Regions from separate parts of the Homo sapiens genome. Here regions 1 and 2 are each linked to region 3. The links are contacts of gene promoters, found by promoter capture Hi-C in blood cells and fetal thymus (Javierre and others, 2016). All regions are on one chromosome and are shown on one strand. The core of a region is centred on a gene start or on the middle of the fragment in contact, and the rest is flanking DNA. Distances in the headings are between cores, read along the strand shown. Region 1 overlaps FBXO45 (F-box protein 45). Region 2 has its middle 17 kb from the start of SMCO1. Region 3 holds the start of PIGZ (phosphatidylinositol glycan anchor biosynthesis class Z (Gwada blood group)).

Evidence for each region. The method cuts DNA at HindIII sites, captures the fragments that hold promoters and counts their contacts. A CHiCAGO score of 5 or more calls a contact.
Region 1: a contact is called between a fragment that was not itself captured here and the fragment with the promoter of PIGZ in region 3, in 1 of 17 cell types (M2 macrophages). The highest score is 5.2, in M2 macrophages.
Region 2: a fragment that was not itself captured here is called in contact with the fragment with the promoter of PIGZ in region 3 in 1 of 17 cell types (erythroblasts); the score reaches 5.4 in erythroblasts.

The regions. Positions count from the first base shown.
Region 1 is chr3:196,588,874-196,592,843 of GRCh38, forward strand. FBXO45 (F-box protein 45) reads left to right here. Exons shown (of 3, transcript NM_001105573.2): 3 at 1-186. Among named protein-coding and RNA genes, the nearest start is that of FBXO45, 22 kb to the left of the region's middle. The HindIII fragment of the contact is 528 bases long and covers 1,923-2,450 here.
Region 2 is chr3:196,530,815-196,534,827 of GRCh38, forward strand. No RefSeq gene overlaps it. Among named protein-coding and RNA genes, the nearest start is that of SMCO1, 17 kb to the left of the region's middle. RefSeq lists an enhancer at 2,319-2,932. The HindIII fragment of the contact is 3,429 bases long and covers 132-3,560 here.
Region 3 is chr3:196,967,018-196,971,228 of GRCh38, forward strand. It overlaps PIGZ (phosphatidylinositol glycan anchor biosynthesis class Z (Gwada blood group)), which reads right to left and starts at 1,816. Exons shown (of 3, transcript NM_025163.4): 1 at 1,670-1,816. It overlaps LOC124906255 (collagen alpha-1(I) chain-like), which reads left to right and starts at 2,116. Exons shown (of 3, transcript XM_047449439.1): 1 at 2,116-2,232; 2 at 2,379-3,195; 3 at 3,284-4,211. The coding sequence starts at 2,116. The coding sequence ends at 3,194. RefSeq lists enhancers at 1,393-1,928, 1,929-2,464, 2,465-3,000 and silencers at 1,536-1,985, 2,046-2,255, 2,266-2,325, 2,436-2,495, 2,606-2,925 and 1 more. The HindIII fragment of the contact is 27,924 bases long and covers 1-4,211 here.

The DNA of each region.
Region 1 (3,970 bases), core at 937-3,436, 380 kb before region 3:
TGCAAACTTGAGGCTGGTAAGGAAGAAATAATTACTGTGAATGCATTTAGCCACTCCCCTCTACTCAAAAATACTGGTAAACTCTGATTTTTATATTTGTTTAGAATTTAAATTAGAATTCTGTATCTTTATTTTTTGGAATTCTGTTGTTTTGCCTTAGTTTCTTAATAAAAAGTTAAACATTAACCACCTGTGATTGCTTACATTTAAAGACATTTTTTACACATTGGTTAGAAAGAAAAATTGGGGTGCCTTAATAGCCAGAGGTGGTGATGGAATTTACCTATAAATTCCATGGCTTTAATAATAGAATCCACATTCCCCATGTTTAGAATGGAAAGTGGACAGAGAACAGTAATTCACTAGGGTCTTATTTCCCAATTGCCTCTACCGCCCCCCACCCCACCCTCCTGCTGACATTTGTTTGATAATGCAGTTGTTTGCCAAGAATTATGAGAGACAGGCATGCTATTCCTGAACTGGCTGAATACACGGCTCCTGTGATCCAAAAGCTTAAAAGAGAATCAGTTGATGATGTTGCTAAACAAGTTGGCTGATATGTTAAAGTTCAAAGCATTTTAATTTTTTTTTTTTTTTTTTTTTTTTTTTTTTTTTTTTTTTTTTTTTTGAGACAAAGTCTTGCTCTGTCACCCAGGCTGGAGAGCAGTTGATGTGCTCTCGGCTCATTGCAACCCCTGCCTCAGGTGATCCGTGTGCCTCGGCCTCCCAAAGTGCTGGGATTACAGGCATGAGCCACCGTGCCCAGCCCAAAGCATTTAAATTTTATAAAAGAAAAATAGGTGTAAATGTTCTGTATTTGCCGCTTTGTTTAGTGGAAAGAGACGCCAGAGACAGCTTTACCAGTCTGTTGTCCTGATTTCTTTTTTGGATCCTCCCTCGAACTGTTTGCTTCTTATTTAATGTGTTCACTAAAATACTGTTGAGAGCAACATGTTCTCTAGTCTTCAGAATAATAGTTTGCTGAAAGAAGTAGCCCTTTAAGATTTAAGATTGTTATTCAGCTTTTGTATGTAGGATTTCATGATGAGTGGCTCAAGAAGTAGGAATCATTTGGGGAGTTTCCTTAGGTCACCCTGTTGATAGTGTTTAATTTCTGTTTAAGGCAGGAAAACATTAAGAAAAGATTAGAGAAGTCAAGTCCTGTCTATGATATGATATGATACTTGTACACCATGTTATATTTCTGCCCCCTTTCCTGTATAAATAAAATGGGGATAAAATCAAGTAATGGTTTTGAGGTCATAGCTCCCTTAAGAAAGTCTCCCTGAAATAATGTATTAAAATTCTAGCGTCTCAAGTTAGATTCATTAGAGGCATATTGTAGTGGGAACAGACCAGATATCTTTGTTTATTTTAATATAGCTAACTTGTTCATATTCCCAACCCATGTTTAAAGAGCATATGATTGATCTGTGCCCCCTTGTTGGTCATCTTCACCTTGGAAGGAAAGGAGGCTTAAGGTTGCAATGAGAGTTGTTGATGACATCTCTAACCCCTCAGTAGGCCAAAGAGTGATGTAGTTCATGATCCAATTGCCCAGAATAGCACGGACAGATGGTTACTTTGCTAAAAGACATGTTGGTAGCAAAGACACTGCTCTGAGCAGAGACTGGTGGCAAAGCCCAGCGCAATCCACCCTTCTGAGCACAGCCTACAGGAACTTCAGTGCCGACGGAGTCACGGAGGCCACTCTAGGTTTTACATGGCCATAGTTGAGCTTCTGAAATTTTGAAGGATCTCCCTGCCCACCCAGCTACTAGTCATCCACTTGGTAATGTAGACAGAATGAAAAAGGCAGGAAAGATCATTCATCAAATTATTTTCTAACATCCGTTATCTAGCAGGCTTTTACCAGGTACTAGAGATGGAAAGATGAGAAGGAAAAATCGAAGTTGCTGACAAGCTTCTGTGAAAGCAAATGTGGAAACAGACTACTGTGAAACTGAGGTAACTGCTTTAACGAAATTACAGGTGAGGTCCAGGGTGGCATAGGAGAGGGAATAGTTAACCTGGGGCGATGTTTAAGCTGAGCTTAGAAGATAGTAGGTGGGAGCTAATGAGGATAAATCCACTGTTCCAGGCAAGTGGGATAGGACGTGCTATGATACGGAGGCACAGATAGGTCCGCTATGTCTGGAACCATGCTGGACAAGTGGTGGGGGAGGGCATGGAACAGGGAAATTGCGTCTGGATTATAATTGCCATACCAAATAGTTTGGGTTTTGTCTATTTTTTCATGGGGGAAGCCATTCAAAAGTTTTCAGCAGGGGCATGATTAGCTACAAAAACCAATATCTGAAAGGTGGGAGTCAGGAGGTCTAGGCAGAAAATGATGAGGACCTAAACTAAGGTGACTAAAGATGGAGGAGGGATGTATTTAAGAGAATGCAGGAACACATGTGGACACCATTTGTATGTCAAGAGTGAGAAGCTTTTTGGTGCAGACATTTATAAGGTACTGCTTATTAAGAAAGGGTATTGAAAAGGAGGAATAGATTGGGAGGTGAGGGGCCGAGCGCAGTGGCTCACATCTGTCATCCCAGCACTTTGGGAGGCTGAGGTGGGCAGATCACCTGAGGCCAGGAGTTCGAGACCAGCCTGGCCAACGTGGTGAAACCCCGCCTCTACTAAAAATACAAAAATTAGTCGGTTGTGGTGGCAGGTGCCTGTAATCCCAGCTACTCGGGAGGCTGAGGCAGGAGAATGGCGGGAACCCAGGAGGCGGAGCTTGCAGTGAGCCGAGATCGCGCCATTGCACTCCAGCCTGGGTGACAGAGCGAGACTCTGTCTCAAAAAAAAAGATTGGGGGGTGAGGGTAACGAGTGCGGTTTTGAACATGTTAAATCGGAGGTGGAAATACAGAAAAGGCAGTTGGAACTAGTGAGCCTGGAGTTAAGGAGATCGGCAGCCAGCTGGATGAGAGAGCTGCTGGTGTGCCGCGTTCCTCACTGGCCGTACGGGCTCCACAGCCCAGCGGGTAGAGCGAGGGAGGCGGGCCTGCAATACCCCCAAAGGACAACCAACTGCCTTCTAAACCGTGACTCTGCCAACTAAAGGCTGCGGGGGTGTTTTGTTGTTTCGGGATTTTTCTTTTCCTTACATACCCCACACCTCTGAATAACAATCCTAGCAGTTCAATTTTTTTTTTTTTTCTTGGAGACAGAGTCTCGCTCTGTCGCCCAGGCTGGAGTGCGGTGGTGTGATCTCGGCTCACTGCAACCTCCGCCTCCCGGGTTCCAGCCATTCTCCTGCCTCAGCCTCCCGAGTAGCTGGGATTACAGGCGCCCGCCACCACGCCCGGCTAATTTTTGTATTTTTAGGAGAGATGGAGTTTCACCGTGTTAGCCAGGATGGTCTTGATCTCTTGACCTCGTGATCTGCCCGCCTCGGCCTCCCAAAGTGCTGGGATTACAGGCGTGAGCCACCGCGCCCAGCCTCAGTTCAAAATTTTTAGGTGCCTCTTTTTAATTTTGGGAGAAGCTCAGCAATGTTCTATCATTTTGGTCTTGAGGCAAGACCACTGGATCAACAGCACAGGACTCATGCGGTCTAAGTCCTGGGGGCGCTGCTGGTCACGACGCGATTCCGGAGCAGATGTCTTCCTTCCTGGGGCTGTTGCTGAGGCTGACCTAGCTCAATGCTTCTCATTTTGGGATGCCCACTAGAATCACCTGGGGAGTTTTTTATTTCTTTAAATTAGCTTTATTGAGATAATAACTGACATCAAACAAGCTATACCTATTTACCAGTGCACAATTTGATAAGCTTTGATGTATGTATATATCCATCACAATCAAGATAGCCTATATGTGGGAAGCTTTTAAAAGATAAGATGCAGCCGGGCGCGGTGGCTCACGCCTGTAATCCCAGCACTTTGGGAGGCCGAGGCAGGCGGATCACCTGAGGTCGGGAGTTCGAGACCAGCCTGACCAGCATGGAGAAACCCCGT
Region 2 (4,013 bases), core at 596-3,095, 440 kb before region 3:
ACACTCAACCTTAATTATTTTGGCTTCATTAAAAAGTCTTAATAACATACAGTGTGAGTCCTCCAGCTATGCTCTTCAAGATTATCTGGGGTATTCTGGGCCATTTGCATTTTCATATAAAATTTTCAATAAGCTTGCTAATTTTTAGAACGCTATGAGCTGGGATATTGAGTAGAATTACATTGACATCTTCATAATATTTAGCCTTCTAATTCATGAATATGATACGTATCTTTATTTAGATTCTCTTTAATTTTCCTCGGTCGTGTTTTGTAGTTTCCTTTGTAGAGTTTTTGCATGTTTTCCATTAGATTTATTACTAGGTATTTGATGTTTCTTGATGCTGTTGTAAGTAGTGTTTAATGTTTTTCTTATTGCTGTTATAAATACGACCAATTTTTCTATATTTACCTTTTTATTCAGCAACCTTACTAAACCCATTTTTCACTTAGTCGTTCATCTGTAGATGCCCGCCCGCCCGCCTGCCTGCCTGCCCGCCCACCCGCCCGCCTGCCCGCCCGCCTGCCCGCCTGCCCGCCTGCCCGCCTTTCTTTTCTTTCGTCTTGCTCTGTCACCCAGGCTGGAGTGCAGTGGCGTGATCTCAGCTCACTGCAACCTCCACCTCCTGGGTTCAAGTGGCTCTCCTGCCTCAGCCTCCTGAGTAGCTGGTACTACCGGCACATGCCACCACACCTGACTAATTTTTGTATTTTTAGTAGAGACAGGGTTGCACCATGTTGGCCAGGCTTGTCTCAAACTCCTGACCTCAGGTGATCCACCCACCTTTTCCTCCCAAAGTGCTGGAATTACAGGCGTGAGTCACCGCATCCGTCCTTGTTCTGCAAACACAATCATGTTGTCTGTGAATGACAGTTTTAGTTCTTCCTTTCCAATTCTTATGTCTTTCATTTCTTTTTCTTGTCTTGTTGTAATGTCTACACCTTCAACAGAATGTTGAATAGAATTAATCAAGGGAATTTCATTCTATTCTCAAACTCCTGACCTCAGGCCATCTGCCTGCCTCAGCCTCCCAAAGTGCTGGGATTATAGGCTTCATTCTATTCTCTTGTTACCAACATCATGAAGAAAGTTTCAGTGTTTTACCATGTTTCTAAATTATTCATGTCTCAAAGAAGAAAATACAATGAAAATTTTAAATGTTTCATTGAAAAACAATGAAAATGTGACATAAGACAATAAGGAGGTAGCTAAAACTGTACTTTGAAGAAATTTTGTCTCAAATGCAAAATAAAAGCTGGACATATCCGTGAGATAAGTGTTCATCTCAAGGTGTTAGAAAAAGAGCAAATTAAACCTAAAGTTATTAGAATGAAGGAAATAATAAAGATTAGAGCAGGAATTCATGAAATAGAAAGAAATAAATAATAGAAAGGATTATCAAAGGCAAATATTAGTTCTTTGACCCTTGTGCACTATTGATGGGAATGTAAATTATTACGGCCATTATGAAAAACAGTATGGAGGTTTCTGAAAAAATTAAAAATAGGACTACCATATGATCCAGCAATGATATATACTAGGTGCATATCTGGAGGAAATGAACTCAGTGTGTTGAAGGGACACCTACACTCCCACATTAATTGCAGCGTTATTCATAATAGCCAAGATATGGAATCAACTTAAGGAGCCATCAACAATGTGGTATGCTAGGCATGGTGGCTCATGCCTATAATCCCAGCATTTTGGAAGGCTGAGGCAAGAGGATCACTTGTGCCCAGGAGTTTGAAACCAGGCTAGGCAACATAGTGAGACCTCATCTCTACAAAACAAAAAAAAAATTAATTTGAAAAACAATATGCTGAAAAAATGTGCTACATGCTCATCATGGATGACATTAAAAATAAGTAAATAAGCAATATGGTGTATATACACAATGGAATACTATTCAGCCTTTAAAAAGAAGGAAATTCTGTCATTTGCAACAAGATGTAAGATCCTGGACGACATTATGCTATGAGAAATAAGTCAGGCATAGGAAGACAAGTACTGCATGATCTCACTTATATGAGGAATTGAAAAAAGTGAAACTTCTAGAAGCAGGGACAGAGAGTAGAATGTTGGTTGCCAGGGTTGGTTAGGAGGCTGGGGAGATGGGAGATGTTGGCCAAAGGGTACAAACTTTCAATATAACGTGAATAAGTTCTGGAGATCTAATACACAGCACAGTGATTATAGTTAATAATACTGTATTGTATACTTGAAATTTGCTAAGAGAATAGTTCTTAAGTGTGTTCATTATTGGGGGAACCAGCCCCCAATATTTCAACGTAGGTTCTTTTCTATTTTCCCTAAGTGTCAGCTGGTCTGAGAAAAAAAGAGAAAGAGTACAAGAGAGAGAAATTTTACAGCTGGGCCTCCGGGGGTGACATCACGTGTCGGCAGGTTCTGTGATACCCACCTGAGCCGCAAAACCAGCAGGTTTTTATTAGGAATTTCAAAAGGGGAGGGGGTATGAATAGGGAGTGGGTCACAGAGATCACACGCTTCATTCAAATGGCAATAAAAGATCACAAGGGCATAAGGGCAGAGCAAGCTCACAAGGCCAGGGCGAAATTAGAATTACTGATGAGGTTTCACGTCCCACTGTGCACGCGTTGTCATTGATAAATATCTTAACAGGAAACAGGGTTCAAGAGCAGAGAACTGGTCTGACTACAATTCGCCAGGCTGGAATTTCCTAATCCTAGCAAGCCTGGGGGCGCCGCAGGAGAGCAGGGCGTTATTTCATCCCTTATCTTCAACCGCATGAGGCAGACAGCCCCAGAGCGGCCGTCCATGCCCCCCACCGGGAATGCGTTCCCTTCCCAGGGTGATTCCTTGCTGGGAAAAGAATGCAGCCATATTTCTCCTACTCGTTTTCTGCAATAAGAAAGATATGACGCTGTTCTGCCCGGCCCCGCAGGCAGTCAGACCTTATGGTTATCTCCCTTGTTCCCTGAACATCGCTGTTATCCTGTTCTTTTTCAGGGTGCCCAGATTTCATATTGTTCAAACACACGTTTTACAAACAATTTGTGCAGTTAACGCAATCATCACAGGGTCCTGAGGTGACATACATCCTCAGTTTACGAAGATGACGGGATTAAGAGATTAAAGTACAAACAGGCACAGGAAATTATGAGTCTTGACTGGGGAAGTGATACATGTCCATGAAATCTTCACAATTTATGTTCAGAGACTGCAGTAAAGACAGGCGTAAGAAATTATAAAAGTATTAATTTGGGGAACTAATAAATGTCCATGAAATCCTCACAATTTATGTTCTTCTGCCGTGGCTTCAGCTGGTCCCTCCGTTCAGGGTCCCTGAGTTCCCGCAACAATTCATCGCAAAAAAAAAAATGGTAAGAAGCTGGGCATGGTGGCGTGTGCCTGTGGTATCAACTACTTGGGAGGCTGAGGCAGGAGGATCACTTGAGCTTGGCATGGGCAACCTACCAAGACCACATATCTAAAGAAATAAAATGTCTTTTCTGGTTCCACTTGAGGGTTGCATTTTTTTAAAAGCAGACTTTTTTTGTGAGATAATGTATATGGTAGCAAGCTTGATTTGGCCACTCCACATGTAAACATATTTCAAAACATCATGTTATGTACCATAAATATATATATTTTTTGTCATTAAAAAATAAATTTAGGCGAGGCATGGTGGGTTGAGCCTGTAATCCCAGCAGTTTGGGAGGCTGAGGTTGGAGGATCACTTGAGGCCAAGAGTTTGAGACCAGTCTGGGCAACGTAGGGAGATCCCATCTCTGCAAAAAATTAAAAATTAGCCAGGTGAGGCAGTGTGCACCTGTAGTCCCAGCTACCTGAGAGGCTGAAGTAGGAGGATCACTTGAGCCCGGGAGTCTGAGGCTGCAGTGAGCTATGATTGTGCCACTGCACTTCAGCCTTGGCAATTGGGTGAGATCATCTCTCCAAATAAATAAATAAACAATTTTTAAATGGTTCTTTGAAAAGGTTATTGATACTGAAAAACTCCTGACAAGATTAAT
Region 3 (4,211 bases), core at 566-3,065:
CGCGCCTGTGTGGGAGAATGTGTAGGGCAAGCAGCAGGGAGAGACCATCTCAGAGACAGGGGAACAGCCAAGCAGAAACCACTGTGCTGGGCGCGGGGGGAGGCCGGGAAAGACAGCACATCTGCGGGGCGGGAGGAGGGGAGGGAAGGGAGTAGAAACACTGCTCCCGCCAGCCGCGGGTGATGGGGACACGTGTCCAGCTCGCTGAGTCCGAGGGCCTGGGCCCGCTTTGGGTGCCCTGTTTCTCCGGCGCCCAGGTGTGTGCGCAGAACCGTGTCTGCTCCAGGGACAGCCGTGAACGAGCGCCGTCCGGAGTGGCAGGGCCATCAGGTGTGGCTCATTCCAAGAAAGGTCCGTACCTTCACATGTAAACTTCCTGGCAAAGCTGCTGGGTTGCCGCTTATGGGAGAAGGCGGCGGGCCCAAGGTTCGGCCCCTTTGTCTGAATCTGGCATTTGGAGCAGGCTTTAAGACTTCGGGAAAAGCCGGGCCCCTGTGCAACCACCAAAGGCTGCTTCTCCCGCCCTCAGGACTAAGATCTTGTTCCAGTCCTCCAGTCCTCGGGGTCTACTCCAGGGGTACAAGGTGAGAGTGGCTCTCCAGAGTCCATTTGCCTTTTGGTGCCGCACTGCATCCTCACTTTGACCCTGAGCGCTGCAGTAAGCCCTGCAGGGTGCTCCACCTTGAAGCACGGGAAGATCTGATGCTGGCCGCCTTCTTCCTTCGGTTGCCTGAAAGGGCCCGTGTTTATCCTTCGCTTCACAGAGAACGCAACACACAACATTAAACACACATAGAGAGTGAAAGAGAACAAGGCATCTTCATCAAGGAGGGCGCACCATTTAACCACCCGCGACCTTGCAGTGCGCCTCTGCAAAGTGGGGACTCCGCTCTGTAGCAGGAGATGGGGGTGTTGACGATTTTGAAAGTAGTTCTCAGTTTTCCGAGGCAAAGGTGTCTGGGGCTGACGAATGACTTTTGAGAAGAAGGAATGATGAGAAATGTCCTCATTACAGAACTTTCCCGGCCACACTGTGAGTCCCACGCAAAGACCCCATGACCACCAACCGGAGCGCTGGGTGCTCCCTGGCAGGGTCACCTTTGCTTTTTGCGCGCCCCCATGCCACCCCTGGGGCAGGAGGCCATCCTCTTATCCTGGGAGTGCAGGCCTGGCCCGAAGTGCAGCCCCCGAGGCCGGGAGCCGAGATTCTTCTCGGCTTCGTGCTCAGAGCTTTGCAGCGTGGCATGGTTTCCTCCTCTTGCCCTGTTGCTGTTTCATACCAGGGGGAACTGAGACCCAGTCGGGTTATGGGCCTCCCTGAGAACACTGGCCTCTAGCAGAAGCAGATTCAACCCCAGGCCTCAACCTGCGCCCAGACCCGTGCCCTGGAGTGGAGTTTACCCACTGCCGCCCTTCCTGGGCAAATGTCACCGCTGCCTCCGTCCCCCTAGGTCCGGGGCGGGTCAGTGCTTCGAGCCAGCGGACCCCGGCCTAGGGACAGGTGCCTGCGAGAATGCGGGGGGCGGCCCCCAGCTCCCCTGCCCTCCTCCCTAGAGGCTGGGCCTGCTGGTCTCCCGGCTGCGCGCAAGGTGGGAACGCGGCCGACTTGGTCCGCTCGCCCTCCCCGCACCCGCTCCTCTGGAGCCGCTGGGGCTGCGCACCGACTCACCCGCGCGGCCTCCGGGCTGCGCCTTCAGCGCTGGCGGCGTCCTGCCCGGCGAGGGCCAGGGTCCCAGGAGGCCCCGGAGGCGGCGGGACCGCAGGGCGGAGGGGAGGCCGTGGGAGCGGCCGGGCGCGCCTCAGCAGCGCGGAGACTGGGGCCGCCGCCGCCGGCGCAGGGCGGGCCGGGAGGGAGGAGGAGCGCGCGGGCGGGGCCGCCGTGTACGTCCCCGCGCTCCCGCCCGGCCTGGCCCCGCGGTCCCGGAGCGAGCTGGGGCCGCGCTGGGGAGGGTCCTGGGGGCGCCGCCGTCCCTCGGGCCGGGCAACGCCGGGCGGGGACCGGTCTCGCCCCGCCGCGCTCGGGCTCCCTCCCCGGCGGCCCCTCCTCGGCGAACAGCCTTTCGGCGCGGGGGGCTGTTAAACCAGACACCCCAGGCCACACTCCTCTCGTTCGAAATGACCATTTCGGGGTTCTCCGTGGCGGGGAGCTCCGCCGCCGCCGTCCCCCTTCCACGCGCGGGAGGTCGGCGAGGGCAGGGCGGGGACCCGGAGTGCGGCCCCCGGTCCTGCTTCGTGGCCCGAAACGCCTCGCAATGGAGTCACTCATGACAGGGGACTCAGCGCACGGGGCGGCTGCTGAGCCCCGCAGCGATCGGCGGGCGTGAGGGGTTCCCCGGCGTGGTTGCCCGGGAGCCTGTCAGCCCCAGCAGCCCTGACAGGAAAGGGAAGTCGAGAGGAGGCTGAGCGAACGGCCGCCACCCCCGCGGGACGCTGACCCGGGCGGACCCCGAGGGGCCTCTCCCCGCGCCAGAGCGCGGCGTGCGCGGGGAAGCGCGACCCACCGGGGTCGGCGACGGCGCGCGGGGCGGGCGCGGCGGTTCCCTCTCCTCCGCCCGTGCCCGTGGGATCGGCGGGCTTGTCGGGCTGGGAGAGCCTCGTGGAACCCGGGCATCCGGGCAGCAGCGGCCTCCGAGCCACTGTGGAGGCGCCCGGGGTCGGCACGGCGAGGCCGACGGGGACCTGACACGGTCACGCGGCGCCGGGGAGCAGGTTCGAGTGGCCGGGCGTGGCCGTGCTGCCCCTCCGCGTTCCGCAGGCGGCGACGGGCGAGCGGCCCTAGCGGGCTGCAGGGAGGACGCCGCGTGGACGGAGAGCCGGCGCCCGGGGGCCAGATCCCCTCCCGGGACGGGGCGCCAGGTCCCCGCGAGCTGCGGCGCGACGCGCGGGCACCCGTGTCCCACCCGGTGGCCTCGCCGCTGCGGGCTGCGCTGAGAGCGGGGTGGCGCGACGCGGTCCCTCACCGCAGGGGGAAGACGGCACCACCGCGTCCCGGCCGCTGGAGCTTCCCGCCCGCGCCGCCGGCCCGACGCTGCCCCCTGGCGGGAGAGCGCTGCAGGGGCCCCGGCGAGGCCGCAGGACCCGACCTCCCCGCCGGCCTCGCACTCCCGCGCCGCCGCCGAGGGTCGGCAGCCGGATCGCCCTCCGTGCCCCATAGCACCCCTCACACTAAAAACGACGACTTTATTAAGATGTGAGGTATTCTATACATACGATAAATACCAGGAAATTTAAGTACAGTACATGGAAGTATACAGTTCCATGAATTTTTTCCTTTATTTTTTAGATACAGGGTCTCTGTCGCCCAGGCTGGAGTGCGGTGGCACGATCTCGGCTCACCGCAGCCTTGAACTTCTAGGCTCCAGCGATCCTCCTGCCTCAGCCTCCCGAGCAGCTGGGACCACAGGCCCCGCCACCATGCCCGGCTCAGTTCCATGACTTCTGACACGCGAAACCACCAGGCTAGTCTCCCCCCGAGTTCAAGAAGTCCTCTCCTCCCAAAAGTACCCTCCTGCCCCTCTGCAGCTAACCCCTCACCTCCCCTCCGCCCTGGTTCCAGACAACTGCTCCTCTGATTTCTGTCACTGCCCTTTGCCTCTCTCGCAATTGCATGCAAGGAGAACCATTCACCGTGTGGTCTTTTGTGCCTGGCTTTCTTCGCTTGGCACCATGCAGCTGAGCGTCGCCCGTGTGGCGTGTGTGTGTTGTATTTTCCTCTACCTTGGTCTTGAGACCTCCCTGGAGAGCCACTGTAAAGGCCAACTCTGCCCTGACAGGGCTCCTGGGATTTGGGCGTGGGTGTTTGCCGTGGGCCTTTCATGGGGCACCTCTGTATCCTGGCTGACCTGTGACCGGGTGTCCCTCTCCCAGGAGACATATTTATCCTGGCAGATCTCCTTGTGCTTCTTGTCTGACCTGTATCTAGTTTATTCCTACCAAGATAGCTGCTCTCTAGGGAAAGCCCTGACCAGGGAAAACGTTACGTTTGAGCGTCTCAGTCAGGCATGACACAGAGCAGGCAACACAACGAAACACAGGAACTAACAGAAGTGGTCCTATTACTTACAGATCCACAGGGGAAGAGGGCACACTGAGGGCCGTCGGGAATGTCTTGGGGACACTGTACACAATCGTTGTGGGGGTGGGGGGAGCCAGAGAGAGACGGACCTGTGGGCTGAGGCTTTTATTGGAGTGCAGGGCATTACTCAAGCAGT